Regions from separate parts of the Homo sapiens genome. Here region 1 is linked to region 2. The links are contacts of gene promoters, found by promoter capture Hi-C in human tissues and cell types (Jung and others, 2019). All regions are on one chromosome and are shown on one strand. Each heading gives the region's core, a stretch centred on a gene start or on the middle of the fragment in contact. The rest is flanking DNA. Distances are from core to core; before and after follow the strand shown.

Evidence for each region. The method cuts DNA at HindIII sites, captures the fragments that hold promoters and counts their contacts. A contact is called where the count stands out against the background at its distance.
Region 1: a contact is called between a fragment that was not itself captured here and the fragment with the promoter of KCNK5 in region 2, in 1 of the 25 tissues and cell types used here (psoas muscle).

Annotation. Positions count from the first base shown.
Region 1 is chr6:39,286,862-39,292,361 of GRCh38, reverse strand. No RefSeq gene overlaps it. Among named protein-coding and RNA genes, the nearest start is that of KCNK17, 25 kb to the left of the region's middle. RefSeq lists an enhancer at 395-896. The HindIII fragment of the contact is 7,015 bases long and covers 1-5,108 here.
Region 2 is chr6:39,226,983-39,232,957 of GRCh38, reverse strand. It overlaps KCNK5 (potassium two pore domain channel subfamily K member 5), which reads left to right and starts at 3,483. Exons shown (of 5, transcript NM_003740.4): 1 at 3,483-4,032. The coding sequence starts at 3,847. RefSeq lists an enhancer at 2,178-2,905 and silencers at 3,193-3,542, 3,643-3,722, 4,736-4,805. The HindIII fragment of the contact is 12,761 bases long and covers 1-5,975 here.

The DNA of each region.
Region 1 (5,500 bases), core at 352-2,851, 61 kb before region 2:
CACAGGTCAAAGGAAGAGAGAGCAATGACATGGTGGCATTGCGTTCTCAAGTCCTGAGTCCTACCCAAAGTGGAGGCCAAAGCCATCTGGAACACTTTCCAGGACAGGTGAGCCCTGAACCACCAGGAGACTACTGTGAGCCCAAGAACATGAGCTTCGTGGGAAGAAGGCTGCAGGGACCCTGGGAGTAAGAGTGAGCTGAGGGCAAGGCACTGTCTGCAAGCCAGAAGGGAGGAGGGTTCCAGAGGTTATTACCGGAGCTGTACAAATATTGTTGTTTTGACTGGTAGTGGAGATTGTTTTATTTTTTTCCCCAGGAACCACAAGTGTGATGTGCGGGCTCATTTTAGAACATGACACCACAGGGAGAGCAACAACCTCTGGCCTCTCCTTCCCCACTTCTCCTGGTGAGATAGATGCTTGCAGGCACGCGCACACACACACACACACACACACACACACACACACGATCCACTAAAAAGTAACCCAAACCACAAATGTTCAATCCACCAATGCCAAGGCTCTGCTGGAAATTCCTAACTTCTTGTGATGGTAAGAATACCACTCCCCGACTTTTTTAAATATGTAAAGCAATGACAACAGTACCTGGAATGTAAAAAAAAGGCCAAAAACAAAAAAAAAACAAAGAAAACAAAAAAAACCCATGAATTCATTAGCTATTATTTAGAGGCTGAAAAGCTCAGCGGCTAAGAGCACAGACAATGGAGCCACATTATGTTCGGCGCTCAGCTGCTCCGCTCACTGCTGTGTGACAGACTGTGGAAAGGTGCTTAACCTGTCGGTGCCTCGGTTTCTCCACCTCTAACATGGGAATAGTAATAGTACCTCCCACACATGGTTGCTAGGATAAGGGGGTTAATGCATGGAAAGAGTTCAGAAAATGGTCTGCCTCAGACATCAATAAACATGAGTCATCATCTCATCACCTCCTGCCCATGGAAGGAAGAAGAAATGACCCCCATCCCACCCAAGCCTATGTCACAAACTCCCACTACCTTGAAACCAACTATGCCTTGGGCAGTAGTGTCCTGAGACTGGGAGAATGGAGGGAGGGAGAAGGAGAGAGAGAGAGAATATGAGTGACACCCAAAATTCATGCATCCAACGGAAATATCAGATGCTCAAAGGGCTTGATTCCAAGACTGTGTGAACCTCCTGTTTTCACCCCAGAACTCCATCTGGGGCCTGGGGCCATGATCTCTCTGCCTACCCCTAGTAGGGAGGAGGGAGGTCTCATCCAATCCAGAGGAGACCCTGCTTGTTTAAGTTAAGCTAAGTTCCAAGGCAGAGCCGGCAGGTGAACTGAGGTCTAGATCTGGTCATGGTTAGATTATTATTCTTTGTTGGGTTTGTCTGGGGAGAGAGGAGGTGAAGTGTGCACCATTTTTAGGTTTGGCTTGGAGCAGTGGCTCTCAAACTGAGTGTGCACCTGTATGACCTGGAGGGCTTATTCAACTGCACATCGCTGGCCCCACCCCAAGCATCTGATTTCTAAGATAATTTGCTTTTCTAACAAGTTTTCATGCTGATCCTGCTGGCCCAGGAAGCATGCTTGGAGAACCACTGGTTTAGGAGATGAACAGACCTAGAGAGACTTTGTCTGAATCCCAGTTCCACTCCTAGGAGCTGTGTGACCTTGGTCAGTCTCTTAAACTCTTGGGCCTCAGTCTCCCTCCTTTTTTTTTTTTTTTTTTTTTTTTTTTTGAGACAGAGTTTCTCTCTGTTGCCCAGGCTAGAGTGCAATGGCGTGATCTCGGCTCACTGCAACCTCCACCTCCTGGGTTCAAGTGATTCTCCTGCCTCAGCCTCCCAAGTAGCTGGGATTGCAGACATGTACCACCACGTCTGGCTAATTTTTGATTTTTAGTAGAGACGGGGTTTCTCCATGTTGGCCAGGCTGGTCTTGAACTCCCAACCTCAGGTGATCTGCCCGCCTCGGCCTCCCAGAGTGCTGGGATTACAGCGTGAGCCACCACACCTGGCCAGTCTTTTAAAAATTTAAAATTTTAAAATTGACATTCTAATACTTGTCCTCAGAGTAGCTGTGCAGATTCAATGAGGACATGGAGGTGAAGTGGCCAGCACAGTGCCCAGCTCCCCATAAGTACCCACAGTGACTATTGCTATTATTCCTTCAGTGGCTGGGACTGGGGTTTTGCTCAGGTATGTGCTCTTCCTAATTAATGATGTTCCCCCCAGTCATCAGCCAGGCACATGGCTTCCCAGAATAAAGATCACATTTCCCAGGCACCCTTGAGGCAGTGTCGCCTTATGATAAGTACAGACTGATGGGTTGTGTATTAGACGGGATATTGGTTTGGCTACTAAAACCAGAGACACCCAAAATAGTAGCAGCCTAAGTAAAGGAGAAATGTATTTGTTTCTAATGTAGCATAAGAGCGTATGGCCCTTGTATCTTGTTGGTCTCTCATTCTCAATATAAGACCTTCATCTCATGTAGGATGGCTGCTGCCACTCCTGCCATCATACCCACATCCCAGACAGGGGGAAGTGGAAAGGAAGATCATACTTCTTCCCTCTTAGGTCACAAGTAGTAGCTGTAAATATCATATCTATTCACACTCTACCGGCTAGAACTTAGTCACATGACCACATCTAGCTGTACAGGAGGCTGTAAAATGCAGTCATCAGTTGAGCCGCTCTATGACCAGTTAATGCTATTATCAAATGCTATGACTATGTAAGGAAGTGAGAATGGGCACAGCATTTACCACAGGATGTAGTCAGCAGTTGTGTGTACAACCACTGGGGATTGTCCTTAAAGGGAGGGGCATCCATCCCATTTCAGCCCTTCTTTCTTCCTGTTGTTGGAATGTAAATGTGATTCTCTGAAGTTCTTTGTCTGCCTAAAGTCTGGACCTCCCAAAGAAGGAAACAATTACCTCCAGTCCCTTCCTGAGTTTTCATTAACTGAACCCATTTCTCAAGAAGGAAGACCAAAGTCTGTCAACAAATCTGGATAGGCTTTTGTCAGAAGCCCTTGTCTGCTCTTCGGGCCCTTGTCCTAGACCCTTGTATGTTCTTCAAGACCATTGAACTCTCCCTAGCAACCACTTATTCCCCCTTACCAGAATTCCTCTTCTCCCCACTACCATAAACATGTTTTGCCAGGATCCAAGCCTCCATTCTCTCTGTAAACTCAAGATGGTACACAAGCTTCTGTACCCCATTGGGAGACTGGGTCTTCATTCTGAAGGCTCCTGGGTATATATGGTAAGTAAATTTGTATGCCTTTTCTCCAATTAATCCCCCTTTTATGAGTTGATTTTTCAGCAAACCTTCAGCAGGCCAAGGGGAACTTTCCCTTAGCCCCTACAGTAGTTTGCCATGGTAGACTAAAGAAAGCCCCAGTTCTTCATCCCTCCCAGGATCCCTGCCCTTTGTCATGTGACTTCTCACTCAGGCTGTATGGGCTTGGCCATGGGATTTGCTTTAGCCAATTGGGCTTGAAAGTATTTGTGAAATTGACTTGTTTATTCTCAATCTCTCTCTCTCTCTTTTTCCCTCTCTCCCATAGCCACAAGGACATTTCTGGACTGACCTGCTAGAGGAAGATAGAAAGACATAGTGCCACTGGACATTTCATTTTGGCCTACAGTAACCAACACCCACAGAATGGAACTGCCCATGGGTACCCTTAGTGGGAAACAGGGATAAAAATGAAACTACTGCTTTCTCAACACCTACCGTGTGCCCGGAAATGTTAACTCATTTCAGTGAGATGGTGATGTTGGGGCCAGCATTCAAGCCAGCCTCCAGCCTGACTTGGAAGCTCTGGGTGTTCACACCACCTGGCAGTGCCTCCAAAGACAGCCTTTAACCCTGCTTCCTCGTCTGGCCACACTCCTCACCCACTCCAGCGCCGAGTCTGACCCCAAAACATCTCTGCGAGGGCAGACCTCCATGTTACAAAGTCCGGGAGACACTTTCCAACCTCACCTTACTTGCCCCTCTCAGCAGCTTGGCATCTGTGTGGCTGCGGGTCTCCTGGGTTTCCTCCTGCCTACCTGGCCACACCTTTTCAGGTATAGCACGATAATCTGTCTGTATTTTTTCCCTCTTTCCTTATTTCGTTTTTTCTTTGCTGTCTTCCTTTCTGTCTCCTTCTTTCCCGTCTTGGTTTTTTCCTTCCTTCCTGAAATGGAGGACAACTGTCCCTCTTTGTCCGGCAAAGAGTCACTTCTGGAGAGCATTTAGATACTCAAATGTTGGGCAACGAAGCATCCATTGTTCAGCGCTTAGGGGAAGAGGCGGATCAATTTGCATAAATCCTTTGAGATATTCAGGGAGAGGAACGTGCAGTACCAATTTATAATAGTGACCTGTGGCCTTGAGATTTGTGGACATATTTGGGTTATATAGCTCTAGTTCTCCCTGGTGCTGAAACTCAGGACTTAGCCCTTCAGGGCTGAGTAAATCTCTAAGAATCTTGATAGTTACAGATAAGGGAGTTGCAGAGGAAGACACTAAAGACCCTATAATATGGCCGGTGGAGGCTGGAGCCCTTAACTGGAATTTCCATTGCCAGCTCATCTCTTCTGTAAACCTTGATTTTCCTCAAGGCTCAGCCTTAGGCCATCTTCTTTTCTCATTCTCTGTTTGCTCCCTAAGTCATGAAGTACCCTGCCAAGATTTCAACGACTAACTACAGTTCGGTGTCTCTCAAATTGTTATCTCTGAATCAGATTTCTCCTTTGAGTTCCTAGAGCTAAGCAGTCAGCATCATCCCCTTCTGCATCATCTCGTGGTTCAAGATGGCTGCTTGAGCTCCAGCCATCTGGTCTGCATTCAGTCAGAAAGGAAGAAGGAAAAAGGGGAGAAGAACACACGCCACACTCCACACCATTTTAAGGAGATTTCTTTATTAAACAGCCAGTGGAACAGTTTCTTACATTTCATTGGTTAGAACTTGGTAGCACAGTCACATCTCCCTTCAATGGAAACTGGGAAATGTAATCTCTTAGCAGGTGACAAAGTGCCCATCTAAATAGTGAGATTATGTTATGAAAAGGTAAAAGATTGAATAGTGGGAGAAATCAGGAGTTTCTACCACAATGCCCCAGGTCATAAACATGATCTTACCTCCAAAACAGGCCCAGACAGGGAAATCTATAGAGGGTAAAAGTAGATTAGTAGTTGCTTAGGGCTGGCGGTGGGGAAAGAGGGGTGGAATAGGAAGTGATAACAAGGCCGGGCACGGTGGCTCATGCCTGTAATCCCAGGACTTTGGGAGGCCAAGGTGGGTGGATCACCTAAGGTCAGGAGTTCAAGACCAGCCTGGCCAACATGGTGAAACCCCATTTCTACTAAAACTACAAAAATTAGCCGGGTGTAGTGGCGGGCACCTGCCTGTAATCCCAACTACTAGGGAGGCTGAGGCACGAGAATCGCTTGAACCCTTGAAATCTGGAGGCAGAGGTTGCAGTGAGCTGAGATTGCACCATTGCACTCCAGCCTG
Region 2 (5,975 bases), core at 2,234-4,733:
CTGTGCCTGAATTCCAAAGGGAGGAAGTTATAAGGAGGCATGTCGGCTGGGCGCTTTGGATCACACCTGTAATCCCAGTGCTATGGGAGGCCAAGGTGGGCAGATCAGTTGATGTCAGGAGTTTGAGGCCAGCCTGGCCAGCATGGTGAAACCCCATCTCTATTAAATATACAAAAAATTAGCCGGGCGTGGTGGCTCATGCCTGTAGTCCCAGCTACTTGGGAGGCCGAGACATGAGAATTGCTTGAACCCAGGAGGCAGAGGTTGCAGTGGGTTGAGATTGTGCCACTGCACTCCAGCCTGGGTGACAGAGTGCGACGCCCTCTCAAAAAAAAAAAAAGGAGCCATGTCCAACCACCCATTCCATCATGGCCTGAACTAGTGTTTTGTGTTTACTTGAGAATGCCCTTGGTCAAGAGGAAGGGTCCATTTGCTTGCTTGGGAGGGGCCTAGAATTTTATTGTTGGTTTACATTCCTCAGAGCTGATTGCCTTCCAAAAGGTTGCACTCTGAAATTATTATCAACCCTGATCAATAATCATAATACTAAGAACTACACGTATGCTATTGGAATGGATTTATTTATCAGCCCTGTAGGAAAATATATATCTCACATCACCTCATTCCCATTTACCCACTTTTCCCTTTTCCAATCTTAAGGCTCGTGTTGTCTAAATATTCGATAGTTTCAGCACAGTTTACATTTTATAAAAGCCCCCACTGGCTGCTGTGCAGAGAGCAGGTGTGTGCCCCTGATCTACAGAAGGTCAAGTTGATCCAACTATCTGGCTGGGGCAGGGGAGTTGGAGAGGGGAGTGGGGAGATGGGGAGGGGAGGGGAAGTTGGGGGAGGGGAAGCACATTCAACTGGGATGGAGACAAAGGAGAGAGGCAGGAGGAGGGAGAATGAAGAGCTGGGGAAGGAGCTTTGGAAAAATACAGGAAAGCAAAGGATGCGGCGACAGAAGGAGAGGATGAGGAGTCAGTCAGCACCACATGGAGAGCAAGAAGGAAGAAGGGGACAGGAAATGCAGAAACAGAGTGGAAGGACAAAGAAACTACAACATACAGAGGCCTCGAATAAAAATCAATTCATCTCAAAGTGTTCAGCATTTTCATGAGGCTGTGAGACCGAAATAGGAAGAGGCCCTTTATTTTCTTAGGAAGAGAACACAGACCGGAGGTGGGAGAGGAATGGTAGGGAATTTTCCAAACAAAGAGAGGGCCTGTGGCCTCTCAAACTGCCCCCACCCCATGCTCACTGAAGCGTTCACACTGCAGCCCTGAACTCTTCACAAACAGGGTGAACTCCATCCAGAGAGGGGGGATCCGGAACCCATGCTTGGTTTCCATCCCAGCTGGAGGGCTGGAGAATGAGACTGCAGAGCTAGGGTTCAGGCCACAGCCTGGGGGACAGGGTAGGCAGGAGGTCAGCAAGGCTTAGAGAAGATGGATATGTTGGGTTGGGTGAGAGGCCTGGTGCTGGGAGTGGGTTGTCTACAGAGAAGCACCCCCAGGGCCTTGTCCAGGATGATCCTTGGCCAGGGGGGTCCTGAGGGGACTGGCACTGCACACCTCAGGGATGCAGTATCAGGAAATCTGGGGCTCCCCAGCTTCCTGCTCTGGTCTTCTTCTCTGGACACGCTCATGTTGCCATAAGGAGAGACAGAAACATCAGCAAAATCAGATCAATGCTTCCAACTGTATCCCTAACCCCTCCATTCCAGCCAGATTTGGAGATAGTACAGATACCCCCCTCCCCAAGTAAAGTGTCTCTTGACACCTTGGGGTTCAGGCCACAGCCTGGGTACAGGGTGGGTAGGAGGTGAGAAATGACTCCCCTTCTTCTCGATGGAAAGAAAAGGCCTTGGCCAGGGGACAGTGCTCAGGGACTCTGGCCACTCCAGTACCTGCCCCTACAGAGGCCAGAGAAGGGCAGGGCCAGCCCCTGGTACAGAGCACTGAAAGGAGGTTCCCCCTCCAACTTCTGACTGGTGCTGGTTGAAAGACTGAACAAACTAACCCACTGAGCTTTTTTCCTCACTGCAAAGTGGGTCGAATGACAGGGCCTGCTTATGATGCATGGAAGGGATTCAGTACTTCCTGGGGTTTACAAGAGCTCAGAGAATGGCAGCAAGGCGAGTTAGAAACATCCTGGGCACCTGTTTTTAACAAATTCATTCACTCCTTCATTGCACACATGGTTATTGAGTGTCTGCTATGTATGTAACAAGCACTGTGGATACATCATTACACAAGACAGATTCTCCATCTCCCCAGCAGACATTTCCGTGTGTGTGTGTGTGTGTGTGTGTGTGTGTGTGTGTCTGTGTGTGTGTGGCGGGGAGAGGGCACAATACAGAGTAAACAATAAATAAAGTTATATAATATAGCAGAGGGAATTTAGTACTAGGAAGGACATAAAGCCAACGAGGGAGATAAGGTGGCGGGGGTGGAATTTTAAATCAGCTGGAGCATATGTATGAAAGTGGGCCGGGCGCGGTGGCTCACGCCTGTAATCCCAGCACTTTGGGAGGCTGAGGCGGGCGGATCACCTGAGGTCAGGAATTGAGACCAGCCTGGCCAACACGGTGAAACCCCGTCTCTACTAAAAATACAAAAATTAGCTGGGCGTGATGGCGTGCGCCTGTAGTCCCAGCTTCTTGAGAGGCTGAGGCAGAAGAACTGCTTGAACTCGGGAGGCGGGGGTTGCAGTGAGCCGAGATAGTGCCACTGCACTCCAGCCTGGCGACAGAGTGAGACTCCGTCTGAAAGAAAAGAGGAAAGGAGAGGAAAGGAGAAGAGAAAAGAAAAGAGAAAAGAAAAAAAGAAAAGAGGCCAAGTGTTTCCCGTAGAGATACTGTGTATTGGGGGGGCGCACAGGGGTGCCACGAATTGAGCTGCCCACTCCTTCCAGATGCAGGGTTCTCACCCGGGTAGGTGAGAACGGGGTGAGGGGGAGGAATCACGCGTGGGTGGCTGGATTAGTTCCTGATGTCCTCTGATTCCCTACAGCTTCTTCAGCCCCGTTCTAACCCCCTTCCTCAGGCTTACAAGAAAGTGTGTGGAAGAGAGACACGGAGAGACTGAGCATTAGACTTTTTTGGAAGAAACATCAGTAAATGAAAATGGAATTACAATAAAAATAACAAAAGCAATAAACTCCTGACCTCAGTCACAATCATTTTAGTTAACACGCCAGTCCTAATAACAAACACGAGTCCCTGAGACCGCAACCCCTCGGGCACCGCAGGGCGTGCAGGTCTGGGCGGGCGGCGCAGCCTCCCCTGGCGGCTGACCCTGGGAGCGCGGGGAGCGCCAAGCCTCTTCTAGCGCTCACCTCGCGCTCACTCCTGCGCTCGCCGGGCTGCTTGTGCGGGGAAGGGGCGGGGCCCGCCTGGGCTCCTCCCCGGTCGGAGCCCGGAGCAAGGGGGCAGAGCGCGCCGGGCGCTGGTTAAAGAGGCGTGCGGAGGCGGGCGCGGCGCATACTGCTAGTGGCGCGCGGAGGAGCGACGCGTGGAGAAGCGGCCCACGTGTCTGCCCAGAGTCAAGTCCTGTGTTCTTCCCGCTCCTTACGCATCCGCGGTCCAGGGCGCCCTTTCAGCCCCGCTGGTGTTCGCCCACCCCGGGCCGCGTGAGTGGGGCCCCACGCAGCTCCCCGCACTCCGTGGGCCAACTTGGCCAAGCAACTCTGTCCGGGGAGCGGTGCTTGCGGGGGGTGAGTACCGGGCACTGCGCATGCGGAGCTCCAAATTCAAACAGCTGTTTTCAGAGGCTGGAGGGCGGGCGGACTGGTAGCAGCTGGGGCTAGGAGAGGCTTTCTCTAGGAGGCGGCCGCTCGGGAGCCATGGTGGACCGGGGCCCTCTGCTCACCTCGGCCATCATCTTCTACCTGGCCATCGGGGCGGCGATCTTCGAAGTGCTGGAGGAGCCACACTGGAAGGAGGCCAAGAAAAACTACTACACACAGAAGCTGCATCTGCTCAAGGAGTTCCCGTGCCTGGGTCAGGAGGGCCTGGACAAGATCCTAGAGGTCAGTCGCCGCCTGTACCCCCATATACATCTGAAGCTGGCTTGAGCTTTAGGGGGCGCTGAAAGGAAGACCCCTTCACAGCTTTGGGTGACCCTCAGTCCCTGTGGAAGGTCCAGGGGGTGATGAGAGAGCGTGTCTCATCATGGGTCAGGCTTCGAGGATCTGTCGCTCACCCGAGGGACACAGGGGTCCCCCAGGCGCGGAGACTCTTTGGAACTTAGTTTGGCCGGAGACAAATTGGAGTTGATTCCCGGGTGAACTAGGCTCCACGGTGTTTCAGTGTGGGTGTGACGGTACCTCCCTCCTTGGGAAGAGGCTGTGGGACGGATAAAGGCGTTTATCTTTCCCTGGAGACGCTCCCGGAGTCTGGGAGCCAAGCCTGGTGCCATCCCCTCGTGTCTCCACCTCCCCGCTCCAGGGCCAGTGCCACGCCTGCCAGGCTTTTCTTAAGGAACGTGAACCCGGCAGAGTGGCGGGAGGGTCCCTCAGCCCGAGCCTGGGCAAAATCTTCCGCCCCCAGCAGAGTTCCGGAGAGGAGCTGGAGGCTCTGTGGGGCCCGAACCCACGGGATGAGGGCTGGTGCCTGGAATGCTGGGGACGCGCTCAGGCTTCCGGGAAGGCTTATCTCGCGGAGACATCCTTCAAGGGCTTGGAGTAAAACTTTGTGAAAGTAGCAGGTTGCACAAACGAATAATACCCGCGTAGTCCCTTTATGATGGGGGAGGAGAGTGTGTGCGGAATTGGGGTGGGTGGGGGACTTCCCTCCGTGCTGACATTGGGAACCGCTTATTTTCTGGTGCACAGCCCGATGGGTGGCATTGACCTCACTTTGGATAAACGGGCTGCCTATCCTGGCTGAGACCTTGGGGCCCATTTGGGGACCGAGGCCCTCTACCCCAGTTTCTCGAGGGCTCAGCTTCAACCATCAACTCTTCTTGGCCTGCTCCCCCAGTGGAATGACCAGGACCTGGGTGAAAGTTCTAGATTGCAGCAGGTAGGGAGTAGGGGTAGATTGTCCAGGGTGTTACCTTGCTCTCAGGGTGAAAGATGCCAGAAAGGAGGTCTGATGAGAAGCAACGTTTAGTCTACAGCAGCACCTCAATACTTTATGCCTATCTAGTCGTCGCTCATTTTCCAGCCTCCGTTTCCCCATGTGAGAAACGGGAATGAGCCCATCCTCATTCCTTATTTCTGCCACGGACTGTTAGGTTGGAAGCATTTGGAAAACATCAAAATCTTGTCCCCAGATTGATGGACATCACACAGATAAGCATATACGTATTTGCTGGCAGCCGTGTGTGGGGAGACTTGTCCTCCAAGGGGTCCTGTAGAAGGGGAGGTTTAGTCTAGCAGGCTTAGTGTTGGATTTTAGTGGAGAGTCTCTTGCCCTGTAGCAGTTTCCCGGGTAGAGGCAGATGGGAGGTGATGGTGGGGAGGATAAGCTTCAGTAGATGGTTGGTTGGTTTACCTCCTAACAGCAAGAGTCCTGGCATGAAGAGTCTACATGGCTTCCTTCTGATGGGCGTCTACCCTGGGGGGTGTGTTGTGGGGAGGGGGTTGCTTTATGATTTCCCTTGAGGAAACAATTCCTCTAGAGAACAAGTTTTTGTTTAGTTTGTTCCAGGGCTTTGTTTAGAGGGGGAAGAGGGCAGGCAAGGATGATAAAGCCTTGAGCTGCCCTCGAAGTGTTTCCCTCTAAGCTGTTGCTCCAACACTGCAGGGGAAGGAAGGAAAGAATTCAAGGCTAAATGTGGGAAAATAAACTTCAAAACACAAGGCAAAGGGAAAGGCTGGCGGGGCATACGGCGGGGGGGGCGGGGTCCAGGGGTTAGGCAGCCGGGTGCAGCTGGTGGTCATAGCTTTGGAGGCTAGACGGCTTCTTAAGGTATTTGAACAAACAAAATGCCTCTTATTTAGCAGTCCTGTTAAATCTGTCAACATTT